Linked DNA regions of Homo sapiens: region 1 is linked to region 2. The links are contacts of gene promoters, found by promoter capture Hi-C in human tissues and cell types (Jung and others, 2019). All regions are on one chromosome and are shown on one strand. Each heading gives the region's core, a stretch centred on a gene start or on the middle of the fragment in contact. The rest is flanking DNA. Distances are from core to core; before and after follow the strand shown. Region 1 holds the start of SMYD4 (SET and MYND domain containing 4). Region 2 holds the start of BHLHA9 (basic helix-loop-helix family member a9).

What was found. The method cuts DNA at HindIII sites, captures the fragments that hold promoters and counts their contacts. A contact is called where the count stands out against the background at its distance.
Region 1: a contact is called between the fragment with the promoter of SMYD4 here and the fragment with the promoter of BHLHA9 in region 2, in 2 of the 25 tissues and cell types used here (small bowel and spleen).

What each region holds. Positions count from the first base shown.
Region 1 is chr17:1,828,608-1,832,113 of GRCh38, reverse strand. It overlaps SMYD4 (SET and MYND domain containing 4), which reads left to right and starts at 2,212. Exons shown (of 11, transcript NM_052928.3): 1 at 2,212-2,388. RPA1 (replication protein A1) reads right to left here and starts at 2,109. Exons shown (of 17, transcript NM_002945.5): 1 at 1,988-2,109. The coding sequence starts at 2,020. RefSeq lists an enhancer at 713-1,213 and a silencer at 1,841-2,360. The HindIII fragment of the contact is 28,265 bases long and covers 1-3,506 here.
Region 2 is chr17:1,268,921-1,272,561 of GRCh38, reverse strand. BHLHA9 (basic helix-loop-helix family member a9) reads right to left here and starts at 2,118. Exons shown (of 1, transcript NM_001164405.2): 1 at 747-2,118. The coding sequence starts at 1,998. The coding sequence ends at 1,291. RefSeq lists enhancers at 966-1,716, 3,321-3,641. The HindIII fragment of the contact is 29,201 bases long and covers 1-3,626 here.

The DNA of each region.
Region 1 (3,506 bases), core at 963-3,462, 560 kb before region 2:
TACTAAAAATACAAAAAATTACGCAGGTGTGGTGGTACATGCCTGTAATCCCAGCTACTCTGGAGGCAGAGGCACGAGAACTGCCTGAACCCAGAAGGCAGAGGTTGCAGTGAGCCGAGATTGCGCCACCGCACTCCAGCCTGGGGCGGTAGTGGGGGGGTATGGGGAGAAAGAGTGAGACTCTGCCTCAAAAAAAAAAAAAAAAAAAAAAAAAAGGCCGGGCACAGTGGCTCACGCCTGTAACCCCAACACTTTGGGAGGCCGAGGCGGGCGAATCACAAGGTCAGGAGATCGAGACCATCCTGGCTAACACGGTGAAACCCCGTCTCTACTAAAAAATACAAAAAATTAGCCGGGCGTGGTGGCGGGTACCTGTAGTCCCAGCTATTCGGGAGGCTGAGACAGGAGAATGGCGTGAACCCAGGAGGCAGAGCTTGCAGTGAGCCGAGATCGCGCCACTGCCCTCCAGCCTGGGCAACAGAGCAAGATTCCAGCTCAAAAAAAAAAAAAAAAGTTCAAAGGCCCCATGGAAGAAGGTAGGAGTATGGAATATACCAGAAATCTAAATTTAAAAAAAAATGTGGGGGTGACTGGAGAGGTAGGCTGAGAGTATGCTGTGGATGGGAATGGTGGCAGGAACGTATGCTGAGTGGAAGTCAGCAGCTCAGGCAAAAAAAAAGACGGTGCCAGTATGGATGGAGAGAAGCCAGTGGGCTTGATAGATCTACGCAGAGGCAAAATACACTTCACTTCGTGAGGGACTGGATGCCCAGGTAATGGACAATATAGGAGGAATGATTTCTCAATTTCTGGTTAGCACTGAACTGAATAGATAATGGTGCCATCCGTGGAGATAGGGATCAAGAGGCCCAGACTTAGAAAGATAAAGAATTTGCTTTGGGATACGTATACTGAACTTAAAACCCTCTGAAGCATGGAATAAGCAGACAGATGACGGAAGTTTGTCTTTTAGAGTAAAGGTGGCTCTGTACAAAGAAATTTGTGAGCAACTGACATATATTAATAGATGGCAATGGAATTGCCTTGGGGCCAGGCGCGGTGGTTCATGCCTGTAATTCCAGCATTTTGGGAGGCCGAGGCGGGCGGATAACTTGAGGTCTGGTGTTCGAGATCAGCCTGGCCAACATGATGAAACCCAGTCTCTAATAAAAACACAAAAAGTAGCCGAGTGTGGTGGCGCACACATGTAGTCCCAGCTACTCGGGAGGCTGAGACAGGAGACTCACTTGCACCCGGGAGACGGAGGTTGCAGTGAGCCGAGATCGCGCCTCTGCACTCCAGCCTGGGCGACAGTGAGTGTCGCCCAGGCTGGAGAAAAAAAAAGAAATTGCCTCGGGAGTCAAGAGGGCCTAGAGGGAGCCTTGATTCAACAAAAATTTACAAAGAGGGACTTACAAATAAGACGGGGATAGACCTGCCAAGCTGAGCCACTAAAAACCAAGGAAGAGGGTGTGACCTGAAGCAAGCAGGGCTTAAACGCAAACGCTGCTGAGAACTCAGGTAAGCTGAAAACGGAAAAGGGCTGGATTTAGCAACTTGGAGGCCACTGGTACCTTCAGCCAGGGTTTTCTACAGCGATCAAAGGGATGACTGGAGTGGGTTAAAGAGTTGATGAAAGGCGAGGAAAGGAAGTGGCTGAAACCAGACAAGAAGTTTGGCTGTGGGTGGGGAAAGGAGAAGAGACAGAAAGTGTCCGCAGGTGGAAGATGCAGAGAAAGGCAAGCGTTTATTTAGTTTGTTCTTACGTAGGAAAAATGTGAGCATGTTTTAAAGACGATCGAAAGAATGCTTTGAGGAGGGGGCGATGACACTAGAGGGACGCCCGGCGGGTCCCCACCGCCCCCCGCCATCTCCTCCCCTCGCGTTCATCCCCCGTCGCCCCGGGCTCCCCTCCCCCTCTCTACTCCGCGAGGCTCGGGGCCGCAGCCACCCCGGACCGCCGGCCCAGCCCCCGGCACCTCCTCACCGCAATGGCCCCCTCGCTCAGTTGGCCGACCATGGCTCCACCGCCAAGACTTCCCCGCGGACCCCGCAACAGCTCCAGCTTCCCCACCCGGGTCCCGCGCGCTGCGCAGTTATTGGCCCGAGAAGTTGCGCGCACCGCTCCCGCCCCCGACGTGCGCGCGGCTCAGGGGCGGGCCCGGGCGCTACGCAGCCGCCGCATTGGCCGAGGCGCGGCCCACGTGACCCACCCATGGTCCCAAGCGAGGCCTGGCGCGGGACGCCGGACGCGGTGCGGGGCGGAGCGGGGCGCCAAGGGGCGCGCCAGGAGCTGCGCGGGCGCTGGGAGGGAGACCAGGGCGCAGTTCCGGGCGCGTCTGAGCGGTTCTCGAGGCGTTCTCGCCTCGGTCTCTGGCGAGTGCACGGGTTGGTATCCCAGAGGAGGTTAAAGCTGTTCCTTGAGACCTCCGCTGCTAAATAGAGTCGCAGTAGTGACCCGATTCGTCCAGCAACGCGGGGCTGACTTCCCGCCTCCAAGCCCTGAGCTTGGCACCGTGGCGGTGGGGGGTGGGGGTGGGGGGTCTCCGAAAGGGAATCAGACCCGGCCCCCGTCCTTAGAGAAGAGGACAGTGTGTGGGGGCACTTTATGCCGTCAGTAACCCCACCTCCAGGTAGACGTGGTACAGGCCCCAAGGGTGTTGGAATCACAGCTGGGAAATCAGGGACGCCGTCCCGGAGGAGGTGCCATTTGAGCCGAGTCGAAGAACGTGTGGGAATTTTCCAGGTGGACTCCATAAGCCAGGGTAGGGTTGGTCCGGAAAGCATGAGTAGCCTATGCCAAAACATTGGAGAGTTGAAATAGCCTGGCAAGCCGGGGATAGCAATGAGTTGTTCAGTATGCAAGGGTGCATGCAGAGGAGTAAGTGACACCTGAGAATTAGAAAGTCAGACAAGGGTCAAGTAAGGATGGTTTTGTCCTGGGCTTCCTGGTATGCTTGGAGTAGCGTTGATGAATTTAAGGGCAGAGCACTGACTTCTGTCTCAGTGTTGGAGGCTGGATTGAAAGTGGGGAGTGGTGCCAATGGCATGGACATTAATTATAACACTCTAGGAAGAATGCCAGACGAGATGGTGAGGACTTAATCAGAACGCTGAACTATGTAAGAGAGGGAAATACCTTGTTAAATGAATAGTTGCTGGGGTGGGTGAGAAAGAAAAATCTGGGATGTGTCTCAGAGAAACTAGAGAGGGATCAGGCCGGGCGCGGTGGCTCACGCCTGTAATCCCAGCGCTTTGGGAGGCCAAGGCTGGCGGATCATCTGAGGTCAGGAGTTCGAGACCAGCCTGGCCAACATGGTGAAACCCCGTCTCTACTAAAAATACAAAAATTAGCCGGGCGTAGTTGCGCGCATCTGTAATCCCAGCTACTCGGAGGCTGAGGCAGGAGAATTGCTTGAACCTGGGAGGCGGAGGGTGCAGTGAGCCGAGATGGTGCCACTGCACTCCAGCCTGGGTGACAGAGCAAGACTCTGCCTCACAAAAAA
Region 2 (3,641 bases), core at 869-3,368:
AGCTAGCTGTGGGGAACCCTTCCCTCTCCTGTTGGCAAGAGCCCAGCGCTCCCCCAGCACCTCTGGGCTCTGGCCCAGCAGGCAGCCCTTGCAATATTAGACCCTTACCCTGAGCCGGGCCAGACACCAGCTCATCTCAGATGCAGGGCAGCTCTCTGGACAAAACTCTCGGGGCAGCTGGCTGTGTCTCTCACTAGCTCAGCAGGCTTGGCCTGAGGCCCCTCTGCCCTCACTCAACCCCCTCCCCAGAATCCTTCCTGGGTTCCAAGTCGGCCCCTCATTATGGGGGCCCTGGCCCACGGTTCCCTGGGAGCTCTTCCTGCCTGTCGCTCGGGGTACATGCACGCAGGACTTACCGGCCCCCAATCCTAGCCCTGCCCTTGGCCTCCTTCCCTGAGACCTGGCCAGAGTCCCCCTTCACTGTGGCTGCTTCCAGGCAGCTCTGCAGGGAGGTCCAGAGACGGGGCTGACCCCATCCTTAGACTCCCAGGCCCCGTGACCCCTCTCCTGATATCCTCTTCCACCCCAGGGGACTCAGGGAGGAGGGGTCTCTGGATGTCTCTTTCCTCCCCTTGGGCTCCCACAGTGCTCAGCCACACCTGGGGTCTTGCCATGAATGAGTTCCCCCAGGCGCCTACCTGTGGGCCTTAGGCCCCGCCCAGCATTCCAAGGAGAGCCCCCAGCCCTCAGGCGTTCCTGCCACCCTGGGCCACGGGGCCCACTGGAGTCGTGGTATCGGAGAGAAATGAGTTTTTCCTTTTATTTGGCTGCTGCCCCTGCCTGCCTCTCCCGGATCCTGCCTCTCCCGGATCAGGCTTGGGCAGCAGCGCAGGCAGGGAAGGGGACTCCGCACTCATGTGCCCACGAGACCACAGCAGGCCCCACCCGCATTCCCACGCTCCCACACCTCCTGCCTCAAAGCCCTCACTCTCCTAAAAGCATCGAGAACACACAGGGCTCGGAGGCGCAGGAGTGCGAAGGCGGCATTCCAAGACGAGTTCGAGTCCAAGATGAGTTCAGGATCCTGAGCCTTTCTGGCAACTGCCTCCCTAGGCTGGGATGTGGGGGCGCAGCCCCAGGCCCCGGAGCTCCTTCTCTCTGCCCCAGGCTGGGATGTGGGGGCGCAACCCCGGGTCCCGGAGCTCCTTCTCTCTGGCGAGCTCCTTCTCTTCCACGCCAGGTCTCAGCCGGTCCAGTTCTGCTCTGTCCAAGACGCCTTTGCAGTCCCGGGTTTTATAGTCCAGCTGCCAGCCCGGCCTCCCTGCAGCCCAGCCGGTGCCTCGAGGCCGGTCAGGAGCGCGGATGGCCCATCCCGGGGGCGGATCGCAGGTAGCCCCGCGGCCAGGGAGGCGGCCCGGCAGAGGAAGCCCCCGGACAGCGGCGCCAGCTTCCCCCGGAGGCCTGTGCTAGGCCCGGCCCCTCGGCCACCGCACTGGGCCGTGCCAGGGGCGCGTGCGGGGGGCACGAGGCGCAGCGGGGCGCGGACGGCACCGAGGGGCGGGCGGCGTCTGGGCGCGCGAGGCTGGGCCCTGCAGGCGGCGGGGGGCTGGCGCCTGTGTCCCCGGTGTCCCCGCGCGCGGCCGGGCCGTGGCACTCCAGGTGTCCGCAGGGCCCGCGGGGCGCGGGGCTGGCGCGCAGGACCAGGGAGAGCGCGGCGATGCGGTGGATGGCCCTGCGCAGCGTGGCGATCTTGGAGAGCCTCTTGCCGCCCAGGTCGTGCCGCAGCGCCCGGCGCAGCGCGTTGAAGGCCTCGTTGTAGTCTAGGATGCGCTTGCGCTCCCGCACGTTGGCGGCCATGCGCCGCGCCTTGGACCGCACCGGCCGCGCGCGCCTCCTGCCCGCCGGCTCCTCCGCCTCGCCCCGGCTGCAGGAAGCGCCGTTCGCCCCCAGCACCCCCGAATCGCCCCCGGGCTCGGGGCAGGGGCCCCCCAAGTCCTCCGCAGAGTCCTCGGCCCCCTTCCGCGCCGTGAGGCCTAGTCCTGGCGCGCCCCGCAGCATGGCCTTCCCGGGCACTCGCCCTCTGCCCCAGCCCCGGCCCTCTGCCCTCTGCCCTCTGCCCACTGCCTTGGCCCGGCTCGCGACGCGGACGGTCCCCGGCTCCTGGGGCTGGACACTCCCGAGACAGGCCCCTTCCAGCTGGGCTTTATGGCACCACGCGGCGCCCCGCCCTCCCGTCCATCCATCTCCCTCCTCCTGCTTTATTATCGGCCTCCAGGTAGGTCGGCGGGGGAGGAACCGAGGGGAAGAAGGAAAGCAAGGAGGGAAGCTTGCAGGTTCTTGTAAGCGGGGACCAGACGGGCAGCCCGGCCACGCTGCCCCGGGGACCTTGCCCTGCCTAGCTCTGGGGCCGCTGTGGGGTGTCTGGGTTCCACATTCTTCCTCCCCATTCCCAGATAAGGTGCTAAGTTTGGCTTCTAGCAGGAGAGCTGATAGGAATAAAAAGAGGCAGAGGGCCGGGCACTGGGGCTCACGCCTGTCATCCCAGCAGTTTGGGAGGCCGAGGCGGGCGGATCACTTGAGTTCAGGAGTTCGAGACCAGCCTGGCCAACAGAGTATATAAAACCCCGTCTACTAAAAACACAAAAATTAGCCGGGCGTGGTGGCAGGCGCCTGTAATCCCAGTTACTCGGGAGGCTGAGGCAGGAGAATGGCTTGAGCCCAGGAGCTGGAGGTTGCAGTGAGCCGAGATCGCACCACTGCACTCTAGCCTGGGAGACAGAACGAGACTCCGTCTCAGAAAAACAACAACAAAAACAACAACAAAACCTTGAAAGTTCTTGTCAAGTCCCGTGGGCAACCACAGAGATGTCACTGAGGAAAAGCATGAGTGTCCCGGCAGGACTCATATGGGAGGCGCAGGGCCCTGCAGGTAAAGCTGACCCAGAGCTTCCGGCTTTTTCAGCTATGGAGGGCGGCTGGCTGCAATTGGGGTTCGGGTTTTGGTTGGGCCTGACTCTCCCTCCACTGCCCTTTGACTCCCCTTCTGCAGGCAGAGCTGGGATGAGTCAGCAGCAGAGGGTGACGGGGAAGATCCCTTTGCAGCCCTGGGTCCACATCAGGGGCATCTTTGGGGTCCAGAGCCCTCGGGCAGCCCCATCTTGTGACACAGCCCTGCCAGGTTATGAACTCAATGAGCAGCCTCTGTCCTCTTCCCCCAGGGATTTGCATTTGAAAGAGGGTCTCAGAAAAAAGATGATGTTTATTCCCAAAGAAAGACCCCCAGTAGAATTTCCGGCATCCACAGCTGAGTTATTTGGAGCGCCTGAAGGCCACTCATTCCCAGTCACAATCCAAATGCCTCTAAGATGCCAAGGCCTATGGCATTGGAATGGGTGTGTGGTTCACATCCATCTCGCCAAAAGAGCATTGCCAATAACCCCATTATTTCAAACTGTGAATTTCTCCATAAAAGAAAATAATAAGGCATTAGGAAGCAGAGTGTATGTATTTACTTCTGTGATTGTCTGCCTTGCCCACTAGGATGAAAGCATCCTAAGGACATCTGTATTTCCCAGGTTCTATGTCCCCCAAATCTGCAATATATGTCGAATTATAAAACAGCTAGAGGCCGGGCGCAGTGGCTCACGCCTGTAATCCCAGTACTTTGGGAGGCCGAGGTGGGCGGATCACTTGAGGTCAGG